Regions from separate parts of the Homo sapiens genome. Here all the other regions are linked to region 1. Evidence: promoter capture Hi-C in 16 types of primary human blood cells and fetal thymus (Javierre and others, 2016). All regions are on one chromosome and are shown on one strand. The core of a region is centred on a gene start or on the middle of the fragment in contact, and the rest is flanking DNA. Distances in the headings are between cores, read along the strand shown. Region 1 holds the start of HEY2 (hes related family bHLH transcription factor with YRPW motif 2). Region 2 overlaps TRMT11 (tRNA methyltransferase 11). Region 3 has its middle 180 kb from the start of HDDC2.

Region 1 (2,700 bases), core at 17-2,516:
AGAGGCTCTCTCCACTACTGACCAAGCGGCCCTGCCAACGTGTGGTTTCCGGCTGGACCCCAACCCAGCCGCCGCCAGTCTCCCGGCGCCCCTGGCTGGGTCTCGCTCAGTCCCTGCCCTCGCAGACGCACAGCGGGGTGGCCAGTTCAAAAGTCCTACATAACTTGGAGAGAACCAGCAGCTAGAAAACCTGTTTTAAACACACAGCTTGAGTTTTATACAACCCACGTTGTCCAAGGCACGAACTGTTGGACACGAATTCATACTTTAGAAACCAAATCTAATTTCCAAGCGCCAATCTTCACCTCCCGGACTCTAACTCTGCGGCTGCGAGTGCATACACCAGGGGGACTGGAGGAGACTGGAGGCAATTATCTGGATAATCCAAGCCCGAAAAACTCGAACTTGAAAATATACGATTATGTCCTGAAATGCCCGCGTCATTGATCTAGTCTTTCCTACCATCAGAGCTGACACAGCTCCAGTCCACGGGCTTCTCCGCGGGGTCTAGGATCCACAGTCCCTGGGGGCTGAAGACCCAATGGAAGTAACTGATGGATCGCAAATTGGAAATCGTAACGTGGCCGACAGACCTGATCAGGAAAACTCGCGTCCTTATATGAAACAGCCCCGAGGCCGCGAAAGTAGCCTCAGGAGTTGTCAGATTCAAAAGCAATTTTGATTTAAGGTTTTCAAAAGCCCCAGAGGGCAAATGTGACCACTCGGGTCAGCCAGTCAGCAGTTTGGATCCAGACAGGGGACCACCGAGTGGGGCGGCCGAGGAGCCGCGGCGCCTCCCGACGTCACACGCGCCTGCTCGCACTTAGCCACGCGCTTGGGGTTATTCTTTACACTCAGGACTGAAACTTCGCCCGCGAGACCGCGGGGCGCGGAGGAGGGCCGAAACCCAAGGTCCAGGTCCAGGGCCCGCCCCCGCGCGCCCGCGTTGGCGCCCGCGCGCTCCCTCCGCAGGGGTTAGCAAGATTGCGCTCATTCTCGCCCCGGCTGCTCCCCACCCGCTCGCTGCTCTGGGGTACCAGGTCCGCGGCCGCGTTCCCACGCCTCGGCTGGAGCCTTGCGGCGGGCATTGGCGAGCGCGGCCCCGCCCCCTGGCCCAGCCAATCGCGAGCCACGCCGACCAGCGAGGGGGAGGTGCCGGGCGGAAGGCCTGGGCCGGTGCGCGGGGGCGGGTGAGGTGGCCCCACCCGCTCGAGGGGGGGGCGTGGCCGGCGCCGGCTCTTGCGGCCGAGCAGAGTTGCGGCGTGGGAAAGAGCCGCTAGGAGCAGACCGCGCCGCCGCCGGAGCCGCGCCTGCCCAGGCCCGGGGAGGGAGGAGGCGGGCGTCAGGGTGCTGCGCCCCGCTCGGCGTCCGAGCTTCCGGCCGGGCTGTGCCCCGCGCGGTCTTCGCCGGGATGAAGCGCCCCTGCGAGGAGACGACCTCCGAGAGCGACATGGACGAGACCATCGACGTGGGGAGCGAGAACAATTACTCGGGGTGAGCGCGGGCTCCGCGGGAGCGGCCCGCAGCTCGGGAGCTTGGGGTAGCTTTGTGAATGCGTGGCTCCCTGGAAATCCCGAGGCTGGTCTCCGCAGCATCTAGGTAGAGAGGGAAAGTTTGGCCTGAGAAAGTTTGAGTGGTGGGCGCTCGCAGAGCGTGAGTTGGGATGGGGCAAGGGATGTGGATTTTCACCGTAGGGGTGGAGTAGCCAGGATGGGAGACGCCACTGAAAGGCAGAGCGCAGGAGTTGGCGAGGGAGGGTCCTGGCTGTCACAGTTGGACGCGCGAACGGCAGCGTCTGGGCGACAGGCGATGTCCCAGCCACTGAAACCGTATTTGGGGGCACTTTCAAAATAGATCAGGAGAAAATAAAAACAATTTGATTTTTGATTTTTAGAGATACCAAAATCACAACTTGATTTTTGGAGGAATTAAAGCAACCTGCGATGTCAAGGCTACGTAGGTTGAACTTTGCAGGTTGACCGTGTGTGACTTGGCTAACGCAAGAGTGAGTGACAGATGTAAGCATCGGAAAGGGCATCATTTCTTTGACTGCTTGTTCTCAAGTCTGGAAGAGATCGGCGTCGTAATCACAGAAGCCAGACCTCCACTTTCCTGTGACAGAGGGAGATTACCGAGGCATTTTAGAGCCAAGGCGGGTCAAATGATAATTGCTTCTAATTGGCATCCCCAGAAGCACCTTAATTATTTATCTGCAGCTGTCACTCAAAGAGGGAAATTCTTCCTACCTTTGGAAAACTGGTTTTCTTTCATATTGTTATTCTAATACATACAAAGCAAAGCACAAAATCTGCAAGAGCAAAGATATTTACACGAAAGCAAAGGTTTAAGTATCTGATCATTAAAGTGTTGTTGTGCCGTCTTTAAAAATGAGGTCTGAAAAACAGAAGCTATCACGTGAAAGGTGAAACCCGTAAAGAAGGGGTGAAAATGAGGGGGACAGGTAATTCAGAAATAAGATCCAGAAGTGAGAAGGTGAGGTAATAGCAACCTGGTGTGTGCAGCATTTCTAAAATGAAAGAGAACAAATAACAGGAACCTGGGGAATTTGAGAACACAAAGAAGCATAGTATCCATGAATTATGAAGAGAAACAGATACAAACTAGAAAGGATTGTAAAAATTATGTGACCAAATAATACTTTGATTGAACCTTCAATATAAAAATATATTTTCATTAGTA
Region 2 (2,829 bases), core at 100-2,599, 270 kb after region 1:
AATTGTACCTTAGTGTAGCTTAATTTTAAGTCTTTTGTATTTTTGGTGTGGTGAATGTAGGCTATTAGTTCTATTAATGAATTAATTTACTCTCAGCCAAACCCTGTTATATGATTCAAGTTACACATTATAACCAAGTTCAGGTATTATTTTAACCCAGGATTGATTGAAAAGTATAAGACATAAAAGCAAAATACTGCGTAAAAGCTTAGTTGTATATGGAAAATTGTGAGAGCTAATGATTGAAAAGGATTTTCTCACTGTTTGACAATTTAAATTGCAGTAAAGAAACTGCTACTCAGAAACTTCTGCTGTTCTTTTTCCTTCTAGTCTACACTCTCCCCACTCCAGTATATCAGACTTTTTGCCAGCATCAAGATACTCTGTGCATTTTATGTCTTTTCACTTTTGTTTATTCTGTCCCCATTGTTTGAGATGCCCTTTCTTCTTTCCTCAACTGGTAAAAATCTAGTCATTTTTCTAGGCCTGGCTTAATTGTCACCACTTCTGTGACACTTTCTCAGATACTTCTCAGCAGAATTAATCAGTCCATCCTCTGTGCTCTCATAATAGCTTGTTTTTACTGCTTATAGAGACTTAACACATAAAATTACTGTAGACTGTTGGTATTTGTGAGTTTATTATTTACAATTTTGACTACTTACAAATGACCCAGATTATGTGTTGCAATCATGTGTACAGGGCATCAATCCAGTGTGTACACATACAATCCAGGTGTTTGATGTCATAGGAGCCAGTGTGCTACTGAGTGAGTGTAGCTGTTTGCCCAGGCTCCATATATCCATTTAGCTTTATCTAATTTCATTGTACACAGATAACTCTTGAAGTGATTAGAAACAGTGTTTCTTTATAAATGATGACCTTTATAGAAATCCAGCTGCTAGTGTTAGTGATAACATGATGACATACTTATATTAAAATAGCACATTGTACCCCCCAAATATGTACAATTATAATTCATTAATTAAAAATTTTTAAAAAGGTGAGAAAGAAGCTAATAATGTGCCCCAAAGTAGGACTTGGAAATAAATTTTGATTGTAGTAAGGTGAACTTTGCAGTGCCTATAATGAGTGAAGAGAACATGTTTTTCATCTCTTACTTAGGAAAGAGGAAAAAGTGATTTTTAAGCTGTTTTTAGTAAATGTTCAATCAATGCAAAATCTGTTTCTCAAATGGGAGCTGAAATTCTAGTGACATTTGGGAAGTAGTTGAAGCAGGAAGATTCACAGGAAAATGAGTGACAGTCAAAATTGATTCGTGGAAAATCTAGGGGCCTATGTACACAATTATTTTTTTTTAATTGACATAGAATTTGTATACCATGAAATTCACCCCCTTAACGTATACAACTTCATGGTTTTTAGTTTATCCACAAAGTTGTGTGACCATCACCACTAGGTAATTCCAGAACATTTTCCTCACCCCCGAGAAGTACCCCACAGACATTAGTAGTTACCACCCCCCTATCTCTGTCAACCACTTGTCAATCTCTGTGGATTTGCCTATTAAGGATGATTTAGTTTTTAAATAGATAACTTGGATTGTAGGGGGATATTAATAAAAACAGGGAATTAAGATGGGATTTAGTACTGTCATAATGGTCCAGGCAAAATATAGATTTATGCCTTCTACTTAACCACTTGCGAACATTCCATTGGAATGAAATATATTGGTAAATATACAGTGAATAATTTTATTTTACTTTATTTTATTTTTTTTTTGAGACAATTTCGCTCTTGTTGCCCAGGCTGGAGTGCAGTGGCGTGATCTCGGCTCACTACAACCTCCACCTCCCAGGTTTGAGCGATTCTCCTGCCTCAGCCTCCCAAGTAGCTGGGATTACAGGCATGTGCCACCATGCCTGGCTAATTTTGTATTTTTAGCAGAGACGGGGTTTCACCATTTTGGCCAGGCTGGTCTTGAACTCCTGACCTCAGGTGATCCACCTGCCTTGGCCTCCCAAAGCACTAGGATTACAGGCGTGAGCCACCACGCCCAGCTGAAGAATTTTTTAACTGCTATTTTTTAATCTTTTTAGTATGGTGCTTTGGGAGTGTATTGTTAAATTAATTGGCTCATTAATATAATAGATTAATTGTTAAAAATGAATTAAGATCGAGTCAAAAAAGATAATATGAAACATGCAAATATGTTTTTCTGCTGTTAAAACCAAATGCAGCAACTTAGTTTAGCAGTTTAGCGTCATTCATGTCATAGATGTTAATTAAAATTGTGTTGGTACCTTGGATTTGATTGATAAATTTGCTTTTTGGGTTTTATAGTTATATTAGGGATCTAAACATGAAGAGTTTATATCTAATTTATGCTTGTGCATATTTAAGTGACACCTTAATAAAAAAATACTTTAAGTCAGTCCACCAGGAAGTAAAAAATTTTTTTCCTTTAAAAATTAGTATATTACTTAGTTTGACACAAACTGTTTCCAGCATCTATAGATCCTACGGTTTGCAAGCTTAAGGTTAAGGCTATATCTTCTCTCTGTTAGCACTTTTTATTTTAGTCTCAACCATGGTGTAGAATATATTCTTTCTACTGTACTCCAGCCTCGGCAACAGAGCAAGATCCGTTCTCTGAAAAAGTAAAAAAAGAATTTATTCTTTCATGTCATAAATGCATTGCATGAAGATTCAAAATTTGATGTCATTGTTATAAGAAGTACAACATTTCTGGCTATGTAGTGAACATTAAAGAATTACTAGATGAGGTGAAATCTGAAGTGCTCATTACTTGTTAGAAAGCTCTAGGAAGAAGTCAGAGAATGACTTCAAGATAATTCTTTCCACTGA
Region 3 (2,832 bases), core at 216-2,715, 270 kb before region 1:
GAAGTCTTCTCTGATAATGTGGTATCGGAGCAGATTTCTGAAGAAAGGTGAGAGTCACAGGGCTTTTTGGTAGAAGAATATTTAAAGCAGAGGAAACAACAGTATGAATGTCTGAGTCAGGGATGTGTTTGGAGCATTTGGAGAATAGCAAGGATGCCTGAGGCTGGAGCACAGTGAGGAAGACAGTGACTTGTAGGGAGAAAGATCAGAGGAGTAGCTGGGGCCAAGTTGGGTAGGGCCAAATAAATCTTTGTAAGGATGTTGGTTTTTAGTTTAATGAAATGAGAAGCCACTAGGGGATTTTTAGCTGAAGAGTGGCGTGATCTGACTCAACTTGTTGAAAAAAACACTCTGGTTGCTGTGTGGGGAATGTTTGGAAGCTGGCAAGTTAGTTAGGAACCACTGTGTAATCTAGGCAAGGGATGATAGTGGCTTAGAATGGGGTGGTGTTGGAAGAGGTGATGAGATGGTGTCAGGCTCTGAACGTCTTTCGAAAGCTTGACAGGATTTGCTGATAGTCAATAGGCAGTGTGAGAGAGAGACACAGTCAGGGATAACACTGCGATTTTTAGCCAGAGAGCTGGAAGTTTGAATTTACAACTTACTAAGACGGGAAGACAGTGGTGAGTAGGTCTATAAGGTAGAGGGAGAAACAAGAGCTCCATTTTGGACATATTGAGTATGAAGTGCCTATCTACATCCATATCAGGGAGAGTGGGCATTTGGATAGATAAGCCCAGAGTTCAGTTGCAGAGTCTGAGTTGGATATGGGAACATGGGGTCTTTAGCATCTGGACACCTTTAAAGCAATAGGAGCAGATGAAATCACCCAGAGAGTAAGGTCAGACAGAGAAGAGGAGATGTCTGAGCATTTTTCTGTTTCTATTTCTAAAATTCCATCTAGTTTTTAAGAAAATAACCTTCAGGGAGCCATTATCATGTACTTAGAGACTCCTCCATCTGGTATAAGACTTCTACCACACTGGCACAACCCAAGTCCCCAACCTTATGTCTCCTTCCTCCTTACTTGTTAAAGTATGCTCCAAACAGATATCACTGACCATTTCCTGAATCTTACCTTACACTTCCCTGCCTTTACACCATTATATGTCTTATTTTATTCACCAGGACAGGTCACCCAAATTTTGGCCTATGAGATACCACCATTCTCCCAAGGCCCAGTTGAAATCCTATGTCCATGATGGAGTGACTCCTATTCTAGCATAACCAAATCTGACCTCCTGCTCTTTCTTAGTAACCACTCTATTCATTTGTACCCATGGCAGATGCAGTTTAGATTACTTGGCACTCACCCTAGCCCTCTTCTGAGCTACTTTTTTGTACTGAAGAAGCTGGAAGACTAAAAAACTCCTTCTCACCTATAGGGTTTCCACCTATGATCTAGGTTCCTTGAGTGAGCGCTGGGGCTCACATCAGACTTGGAAGGCAGAAGTGGCCACTGTAAAGTAACATCTACACTCAGGGAATTTGGATATTATGGCAGAGGAATTTTATTCTCTGGAGGCATTGGGTAGAGTCCCTAGGGTCTTACTTAGGTGTTGCATGGGGGACAGTAGAGGCCACAACAGTGTGGTTTCACTAAATGGTTTTGCAGTCTTCTTGCGCATTTCTTCTGGCTGTGCAGCACCCAACCTGGTTTCCCTGGTCTGTCTAGAAATTCTGTAAGTGACTTAATATTCTTTCATAACCCCTTTACTACTCAAAGTCAATAGATTAGATTCTGATATTTGCAATTAAACCTCCTGACCGATAAAATACCTTTCTTAAATATAGTATAGCATCTTGCTTTGCTGTATAACATGTTTTACTGCATTTTTATTATTTTCTCTACTAGGTTGTATAATAACTCTTTTTAAGATAGGCAATAACTGTATCAAACTCCCCCCCTTGTGTACAGTACAGCACCTAACTGTGTGTGAGGAGTCCCAGCAAAGTCACAGAAATGCTGCAAAGTACTTTAACACAGTGACATCTGTTGAACACTGAACAAACTACTACTATTGGCTCATTTGGACCTATCTACTTAATAAAGGGTATTGTTTACTCACATTGTAAAAAAATCACTGTGCCCTCAGTAATCAAGAAAATTTCATACAACACCTCTGTTCTAGATGCGTAATACAAATATACGTGCGTCTCATCTGTACTTAGATGAGACTCGGGAAGTACAGTCCTTTGGAGTTCAGGAATAAAGGGAAACTTGGCCCATATGGATACCAGTTAAGGCAGGGAGGACTGAAAAATAGGACTTTATTTGGACTTAAACTAGGTAGCATCCCAAATGTGATTTTTAAATTTTGATTGAAAATTATGGGAAATGCCCCAATGCCCACAGAGGCCACGCAGAGGATCTGTACATCACTGACTGTGCATCACTAACACTCTTATAGTAGCTCTTCTGAAGTCTCCTTGTAAGCTTCCTCTTTATTTCTTATGCCTCTACATTGCAGCATTCTATTGGCTAAAATGAAGCAAATGAACCCACGAGGAGGTCAAATATAGGCAGACAGCCTAGCTAAGGCTATGATGGAGATGAAAGGCTGTATTCTGATTGTTGGCATGCCAGCTTATATCTTCTGCCAAATTATATTTATACAGCTGAGAGGAGTATGTTAGTTTCGTGTTCCTTCCACCCAGGAGTCAGAGCCATTTTCTCAAGAGAAGGATCCTAAATGGAATGCATATGTTTTACAATACCCAAATGAGCTTCCCATCCTCAGATCCTTGAGCCCCTAAATACCACTGCTTCAGCTAAGCTGGTAGGCTCCTTTCTGGCCAGAACTCTGATTAGAATCCAAATTTTACATGATT

What was found. Contacts are between HindIII fragments. The CHiCAGO score rates a contact against its expected background, and 5 or more counts as called.
Region 2: a fragment that was not itself captured here is called in contact with the fragment with the promoter of HEY2 in region 1 in 1 of 17 cell types (activated CD4 T cells); the score reaches 5.3 in activated CD4 T cells.
Region 3: a contact is called between a fragment that was not itself captured here and the fragment with the promoter of HEY2 in region 1, in 1 of 17 cell types (megakaryocytes). The highest score is 5.4, in megakaryocytes.

The regions. Positions count from the first base shown.
Region 1 is chr6:125,748,366-125,751,065 of GRCh38, forward strand. HEY2 (hes related family bHLH transcription factor with YRPW motif 2) reads left to right here and starts at 1,267. Exons shown (of 5, transcript NM_012259.3): 1 at 1,267-1,494. The coding sequence starts at 1,412. It overlaps HEY2-AS1 (HEY2 antisense RNA 1), which reads right to left and starts at 1,060. Exons shown (of 5, transcript NR_183491.1): 1 at 594-1,060. RefSeq lists a silencer at 776-1,485. The HindIII fragment of the contact is 5,509 bases long and covers 1-2,700 here.
Region 2 is chr6:126,017,157-126,019,985 of GRCh38, forward strand. The region is part of intron 11 of TRMT11 (tRNA methyltransferase 11); the gene reads left to right. Among named protein-coding and RNA genes, the nearest start is that of TRMT11, 32 kb to the left of the region's middle. The HindIII fragment of the contact is 2,288 bases long and covers 206-2,493 here.
Region 3 is chr6:125,477,705-125,480,536 of GRCh38, forward strand. No RefSeq gene overlaps it. Among named protein-coding and RNA genes, the nearest start is that of HDDC2, 180 kb to the left of the region's middle. The HindIII fragment of the contact is 1,940 bases long and covers 496-2,435 here.